Regions from separate parts of the Homo sapiens genome. Here region 1 is linked to region 2. Evidence: promoter capture Hi-C in human tissues and cell types (Jung and others, 2019). All regions are on one chromosome and are shown on one strand. Each heading gives the region's core, a stretch centred on a gene start or on the middle of the fragment in contact. The rest is flanking DNA. Distances are from core to core; before and after follow the strand shown. Region 1 overlaps LOC124903678 (a long non-coding RNA gene). Region 2 holds the start of DOC2A (double C2 domain alpha).

Evidence for each region. The method cuts DNA at HindIII sites, captures the fragments that hold promoters and counts their contacts. A contact is called where the count stands out against the background at its distance.
Region 1: a contact is called between a fragment that was not itself captured here and the fragment with the promoter of DOC2A in region 2, in 3 of the 25 tissues and cell types used here (dorsolateral prefrontal cortex, lymphoblastoid cells and spleen).

The regions. Positions count from the first base shown.
Region 1 is chr16:30,611,163-30,615,117 of GRCh38, reverse strand. The region is part of intron 1 of LOC124903678 (a long non-coding RNA gene); the gene reads right to left. Among named protein-coding and RNA genes, the nearest start is that of ZNF689, 2.8 kb to the right of the region's middle. RefSeq lists an enhancer at 3,733-3,955. The HindIII fragment of the contact is 7,596 bases long and covers 1-3,955 here.
Region 2 is chr16:30,009,041-30,012,988 of GRCh38, reverse strand. DOC2A (double C2 domain alpha) reads left to right here and starts at 1,962. Exons shown (of 11, transcript NM_003586.3): 1 at 1,962-2,086; 2 at 2,754-3,028; 3 at 3,432-3,511; 4 at 3,713-3,787; 5 at 3,884-3,948. The coding sequence starts at 2,767. RefSeq lists a silencer at 1,996-2,055. The HindIII fragment of the contact is 30,604 bases long and covers 1-2,122 here.

The DNA.
Region 1 (3,955 bases), core at 582-3,081, 600 kb before region 2:
CTCCTGCCTCAGCCTCCCAAGTAGCTGGGATTACAGGCATGTGCCACCACACCCGCCTAATTTTTTTGTATTTAGTAGAGAGGGAGTTTCACCATGTTGGTCAGGCTGGTCTTGAACTCCTGACCTCAGGTGATTTGCCCTCCTCAGCCTCCCAAAGTGCTGGGATTATAGGCACGAACCATCGTGCCTGGCCTGACTTTTCTTTTCTTTTTTGAGATGGAGTTTCACTCTTGTTGCCCAGGCTGGAGTGCAATGGTGCAATCTGGGCTCACTGCAACCTCAGCCTCCCCGGTTCAAGCGATTCTCCTGCCTCAGCCTCCTAAGTAGCTGGGATTACAGGCATGCACCACCACTCTCGGCTAATTTTTTGTATTTAGTAGAGACAGGGTTTCACCATGTGGGTCAGGCTGGTCTTGAACTCCTGACCTCAGGCAATCCACCCGCCTCAGCCTCCTGAAGTGCTGGGATGGATTACAGGTGTGAGCCACCACGCCCAGCTGACCTGACTTTTCTTAACAGATTCATGCAGCCCAGGTTTTTTGTTTGTTTGTTTGTTTTTGTTCTATTCATTTAAACACAGAGTCTCAATCTGTTGACCACGCTGGAGCGCAGTGGTGTAATAATCATAGTTAACTGCAGCCTTGAACTCTTGGGCTCAAGTCATCCTCTCGCCTTAGCCTCCCAAAGGGCTGGGACTACAGGCATGAGCCACCATGCCCACACGCCCAGCCACAATTAGGAGGCTAGAGCTCCCGCCTTTTTTTTTTGTTGTTGTTGTTGTTTTTGTTTTTTGAGACAGGATCTCATTCTTTCGCCCAGGCTGGAGTGCAGTGGTGCAATCTTGGCTACTGTAGCCTTGACCTCCCAAGTCTCAATCGATCCCCCCACCTCAGCTTCCCAAGTAGCTGGGACTATAAGTGCCCGACACCATGCCTAGTTAATTTTTGTATTTTTTGTAGAGAAAGGGTTTTGCCATGGTGGCCAGGCTGGTCTTGAACTCCTGGGCTCAAGCAATCCCCCCACCTCGGCCTCCCAAAGTGCTGGGATTATAGGTGTGAGCCACCACACCTAGCCTGTAACTGTAGTTTTTTTTCCACCACCTCTGTTCAAACATCTCCTTCCTCTGAATATCTCACTGCTGCCTCCTCATCCTCCTCCTCCTTCTTCTTTCTTCTCCTTCCTCTTTTTTTTTTTTTTTTTTGAGACGAGTCTCGCTCGGTCGAAAGCTCCGCCTCCCGGGTTCACGCCATTCTCCTGCCTCAGCCTCCTGAGTAGCTGGGACTACAGAAGCCCACCACCATGCCTGGCTAATTTTTTATATTTTTAGTAGAGACGGGGTTTCACCGTGTTAGCCAGGATGGTCTTGATCTCCTGACCTAGTGATCTGCCCGCCTCGGCCTCCCAAAGTGCTGGGATTACAGGCGTGAGCCACCAAGCCCAGCCTTTTTTTTTTTTTTTTTTTTTGAGACTTAGTCTTACTCTGTCACCCAGGCTGGAGTGCAGTGGCACCATCTTGGATCACTGCAACCTCCGCCTTCCAGTTTCAAACAATTCTCTTCGGCTGGGCCTGGTGGCTCATGTCTGTAATCCCAGCACTTTGGGAGGTCGAGGCGGACAGATCAGCTGAGGTCAGGAGTTCAAGACCAGCCTGACCAACATGAAGAAACCCCATCTCTACTAAAAATACAAAATTAGCTGGGTGTAGTGGCGCATGCCTGTAATCCCAGCTACTCGGGAGGCTGAGGCAGGAGAATCGTTTGAATCCGGGAGGCGGAGGTTGTGGTGAGCCGAGATTGCTCCATTGCACTCAGCCTGGGGAACAAGAGCAAAACTCCGTCTCAAAACAAAACAAAACAAAACAAAACAGAAAACAATTCTCATGCCTCAGCCTCCCAAGTAGCAGGGACTATAGGCATGTGCCACCAAGCCCGGCTAATTTTTGTATTTTTAGTAGAGACAGGGTTTTGCCATGTTGGCCAGGCTGGTCTTGAACTCCTGGCCTCACGTGATCCACCCACCTCGGCCTCCCAAACTGCTGGGATTACAGGTGTGAGCCACTGCTCCCGGCCTCATTGCCTTCTAATTTTGTGACTTTTCCTGCCACATTGTTTGTCTTTATTCCTTGAAAGCTTTGAGGTTAGTGTTTTGCCCATAGTATATGCTTTACAATATTGATTAAAGGGTTAGAGAGATAGATGTGCATGTCACTAGCTAAGAGACATGGCAAATGGTGTATTCTCCTGCTCGCAGGACCCTTGGGGGTGGCATTGAGCTGGTGAAACTCTGCAGTATAACACATACATAGAAGTAGGGGCTAGGGCGGGCGTGGTGGCTCATGCCTGTAATCCCAGCACTTTGGGAGGCAGAGGTGGTTGGATCATGAGGTCAGGAGTTCGAGACCAGCCTGGCCAAGATGGTGAAATCCCGTCTCTACTAAAAATACAAAAATTAGCCGAGCAAAGTGGCGGGTGCCTGTAATCTCAGCTACTCGGGAGGCTGAGGCAGGAGAATCACTTGAACCCGGGAGGCCAAGGTTGCAGTGAGCCGAGTTTGCACCACTGCACTCTAGCCTGGGCAACAGAGCAAGACTCCGTCTAAAAAAAAAAAAAAAAAGGGCTGGGCACAGTGGCTCACGCCTGTAATCCCAGCACTTTGGGAGGCTGAGACGGGTGGATCACGAGGTCAGGAGATCAAGACCATCCTGGCTAACATGGTGAAACCCCGTCTCTACTAAAAATACAAAAAATTAGCTGGGCGTGGTGGCGGGCGCCTGTAGTCCCAGCTACCCGGGAGGCTGAGGCAGGAGAATGGCGTGAGCCCGGGAGGCGGAGCTTGCAGTGAGCCGAGATGGCGCCACTGCCCTCCAGCCTGGGTGACAGAGCGAGACTCCGTCTCAAAAAAAAAAAAAAAAAAAAAATGTGGAGGCTAATGGGGTGGGTGCTGGCTTGTTCCATCAGCAATTTTCAGTTCAGTGCCTTTCACATACATGCTTGTATCATTCTGTTATGATTCATTGTGAATTTATATGCTTTACTAGACTGTAAGCTCCATTCAAAGCATGGCCTATGACTTATTTATGTACGCTCTCCCAATTGCCTAGCACTATGCTTTGTACGTTGAACAAATGTCACGTGAAAATAATGTAGGGAGATTATGCAGAATATTGAACTTGAGAAGAAAACAAGAGCTCAGGTGGATTCCTGGTTTAGCAAGCAAATTAGGATACTGTGAAGGAAGGATGCCTATCAGTGGTATGAATAAAGGCTCTGTCTGCCCCAGGTTTAAATCTTTATTCCCCACTCCTTACTAGCAGTATGGCCCTGGAAACTCATGGAATCCCTCTGAGATCGTTTCTTCATTAGTAGAACCAGGATGATAACCATTGGTTCACAAAATGCTAGTAAAGAATTAATAACGGGCTGGGTGTGGTGGCTCACTCCTGTAATCCCAGCACTTTGGGAGACCGAGGTGGGCGGATTGCTTGAGCTCAGGAGTTCGAGACCAGCCTGGGAAACATGGCGAAACACCGTCTCTACCAAAAATACAAAAAATTAGCAGAGCACTGTGGGTGCATGCCTTCACTCCAGCCTGGGCAACGGAATGAGACCCAGTCTCAAAAAAAAAAAGCGAATAACTAATGGCTCCGGTGCTGTGGCTTATGCCAGTAATCCCAGCCCTTTGGGAGGACGAGGCAGGAGGATCACTTAGCCTAAGGGTTCGAGACCAGCCTGGGCAACACAGGGAAACCCTGACTCAACAAATAACATAAAAAATTAGCCAGGCGTGGTAGTGCACACCAGTAGTCCCAGTTACTCTGAAGGCTGAGGCAGGACGATTGCTTGAGCCCAGGAGTTAGAGGCTGCAGTGAGCTGAGATTGCACTACTGCATTCCATCCCGCCCGGGTAACAGAGTGAGACCCTGTCTCAAAAAAATAAAAATAAGGCCGGGCATAGT
Region 2 (3,948 bases), core at 713-3,212:
ACTGAGTTTTGCTCTTACAGCCCAGGCTGGAGTGCAGTGGCACGATCTCAGCTCACTGCAACCTCCGCCTCCCGGGTTCAAGCGATCCTCCTGCCTCAGCCTCCCAAGACACATACCACCACGCCCGGCATTTTTAGCAGAGATGGGGTTTCACCATGTTGGCCAGGCTAGTCTCAAACTCCTGACCTCAGGTGATCCACCCACCTCGGCCTCCCAAAGCGCTGGGATTACAGGCGTGAGCCACTGCGCCCCGCCCCCTCAGTGTTGTTGACTTTACATTTCTCTTACTTTTTTTTTTTTTTTTTTTTAAGAGACTGTGTCTCACTGTGTTGCCCAGGCTGGCTTCACTCAAGCGATCCTCTCGCCGCAGTCCCTGGAGTAGCTAGGATTACAGGCACCCGCCACCACTCTCGGCCCCATTTCTCTTATTTAAAAAAAAAAAAATTGCCGTGAAATACGCATATCGAAATGTACCATCTTCACCATTTTTAAGGGTAAGATTAGGTGGTGTTAGGTATGTTCAGTTGTCGTGCAACCAGATTGCTGTTTTAAATAACAGCACTTAGAGATGCCGACTTCGTGCCAGGCCCAGTTTGGGACATTAGGGACTCCCAGATGAATCAGCCGCTCCAGTGGAACTCCCTGCTGGTGGGGGAGGCACTGGCGAAGCGGTGCTGAGCCGAGTCCTGACGGCGCTGGAGCTGAGGGGCAGTGCGGGATGCCCCAGGAAGGCTCCTAGGAAGAGGGGACCCACGGTGACTTCCTAAGGAAGCGCGGTTCCCAGGTAGAGGAGCGCATGTGAGCCAAGATCCCTAGGCCTGAGCCGTCTAGGTGTGTCCCAGGAACTGCAGGAAACGGTTGGGTGAGTCAGTGGTGGGCAGCGAGGGTGATAAGCCCCTTCGTGTCTTCGGGATGGTAAGTTTGGGGCACAGGTGAGTGAAGACCGAAGGCCAGGGGTGGACTGACACTCCGTGGCAGGCGCAGGGCCGGGCAGGGGGGCGGCTTGGGGGTGGCAAGGTTTGGGTGAGAAATGGCAGCCCATGGGGAACTACCGCAGGGCTCTGAGACCTTCAGAGCCAAGCCCCGACGCCCCTTCCCACCTGCGGGGCAGAACTGGGGATGGCAGGGGGGAGGGTGGTTCCCAAAGGAGATACCATCCCTGGTAAGGGGACATGGGCCCCTGGGAGTTGGGTTGGGCCACAAGGAGAGAGGCCTGAACGGCCAAAGGGAGGGGGCGTGGGGGAAGCCGCAGCATCAGACCTCTGCCTCCTCCCTCAGATCGTGAGGCTCCCCAGCCTGGCTCGGGAGACCCCGAGATCCCCGGCCGGTGACAGCAGGCGACCCCCTGCTCCTGTCAACCTGTGGGTCCCTACGGACGTGGGGAAGGGAGGAGGGAGGCCCCAGCTCCCTGCGGGGGAGGGGCGTGAAGACGCGCGGGGGTGGGGGGAGATGAGCCGGCGTCGCCATGACAACGAGGCCGGTGGTCCGGCCTTGGGGACCCGGGAGGGAGGGAGGCGCCGTGGCCGCGCGCGCGGGCGGGGGCGGGGGGCCAGGTCTCCCAGGAGTAGTTGGGGAACACCCGGCGATTCTGGCGGCTGCTTCCTGGTGGCGCAGGGAGCCCGCGTGTTTGCGAGTGCGTGTGTGTGCGAAGTTCTCCGGGTAAGTGTGCCAGCGCGCGCCTGGGTGTGTGCAAGGGTGTGAGCGTGCACACGTGGGCACGGGCGTGTGCGCGCGGGGGTGCCCGGTTGGATGTGTGCACACGAGTGTGTGCCGGTCCGCGTGCCCCTGCGTGAGTGTGCGCGCGCGAGCACACGTGTGTGTGCGCGCTCGCGTGCGCTCCCGAGCGGGCCCCGGGTGGGAGTCCGAGATCCCGCCCCCTCCCCAGCCCCAGCGCCCCTCCCCGTCCCCCGCCGCCGCGCCGGCTGCATCCTCGCCTCCACCTCGCTCACCCCCTCCTCCCCGCACTTTCTCGGCGCTCCCTCCCTCTCGGCTCGCACAGCTCGACTCCGCGCTCTCCTCGCCGGCCGCCGCCGCCCAGCCTGCGCCCGCCGTCCCCCCAGTGCCTGGGCACCTGTTGGAGGCAGAGGCAGGTGCAGGGGGCTGGGCAGGCCGGGGGCGTGAGGGTGCGGGGAAGCGTGCCAGCCTGTGTGCGCTACGGGGGTGTTCGGCTCTCCTGCGGCTGCAATTTCTGGCTCCCCTGAGGAGCCAGAGGTGGCATCTGAGGCTGGGGTCTCCACCGTGGGCTGTGGTGAGCGAGCGGGGGAACCAGGCAGGCAGACAGGTCCTGGGGCTGAATGAGGGGACAGTGGGCAGTTGGAGCCTAGAGGGGTGGGTGACACCCTGACTAGACCAGCGCCTGGTGCAGAGGAGGACAGAGCCTCCGAGAAACAGAGGCGGGGCCCTGCAGGGCCCCTTGGGGGACAGGCAGGCTCAGGAGCAGAGGGGAGCCCCGGAGGAGAGGAAGGAGCTGGCAAGATGATACAGGGACAACCTAGAAGTGGGTGGGTGAGGACGGGGTGGTGCAACCTCGACTTCTGCAAGGAGTGGGTTGGCAGCCCAGCCCCTGTGGAGTCAGCTTGGGGTCTGCAGGGCCCAGGCCTCCCACCTGCCACCGGCTGGCACACACCACCCTCTCCCTCGACACCTAGGAAGGGAGGCCAGTGAGGGCCCCACAGACCGAGGAGGCCGTCGCCTGGCCCTCAGCCAGGATGGCTAGGTATGATGGGCTCACTGGCTCACACGCCCTCTCCTAGCCAGGGGTGCTGCATGAGGGGCCGCAGGGGCGATCGCATGACCATCAACATCCAGGAGCACATGGCCATCAACGTGTGCCCCGGGCCCATCCGGCCCATCCGCCAGATCTCTGACTACTTCCCCCGGGGACCAGGACCTGAAGGGGGCGGCGGGGGCGGCGGGGAGGCCCCCGCCCATCTGGTCCCCCTGGCTCTGGCCCCCCCTGCAGCCCTCCTTGGGGCCACCACGCCTGAGGATGGTGCGGAGGTGGACAGCTATGACTCGGATGATGCCAGTGAGTCTGGGGGCTTGGAGGCCCCATGTGCTGGTGGGGGTCTCCAGGCTTGCCGTGGTGGGGGGAGAGGGGGATGGGCCCTGCTGGCTGTGCATGTAGGTAGGGGAGGAGGGCAGTGGGGGGGTGGCAGGGACGGCCACCACAGCTGCAGTCAGCGTGGAGATTACAGCTTCAGCAAGGCTCAATATTCAGTATTTCTGCTGAGACACTCCACCACCCACACAGCCCCAGTTGCGGCCGAGCCAGGGACCCAGACGCACACACGCATGGGCCCACTCAGCCTCTTGCACTCACACTCGCGGGCTGGCAAGAGAGAGAGACACACAGAGCCAGTGCCCACCTGCTGGCCTCTCGCACACACCTGTCTCCATACCGACCCATGCTGCCTTTCCTCTCTCTCCAGCCGCCCTAGGCACGCTGGAGTTTGACCTTCTCTACGACCGGGCCTCCTGCACTCTGCACTGTAGCATCCTCAGGGCCAAGGTGGGCACTCCCTGCCACCCAAGCCCGGGCCCGGTTTGCGTGCAGCCCCCAGAGGGGGCCCATTCCTCCTTCCCTTCCCAGGCCTGCTCCTTCGTCCTGCCCTTGCCCCCTCCTTCTGGGCTCCTCCAGGGTCCAGCTCTACAAGAGGGATGGAGAGAGGTGCCGGGAGCCTCTAGCCCTCTCCCCTGCCCTCCTCTCCAGGGCCTCAAGCCCATGGATTTCAATGGCCTCGCCGACCCCTACGTCAAGCTGCACTTGCTGCCTGGAGCCTGTAAGGTAACAGCCTCCTCTCGCCCCGCCCGGCCCAGCCCATGACTCCAGCCTGTGGGGCTGGAGGACAGGTATTGAGAACCTTTCATCCCCACATCCCAGGCCAATAAGCTAAAAACGAAGACTCAGAGGAACACACTGAATCCCGTGTGGAATGAGGACCTGAC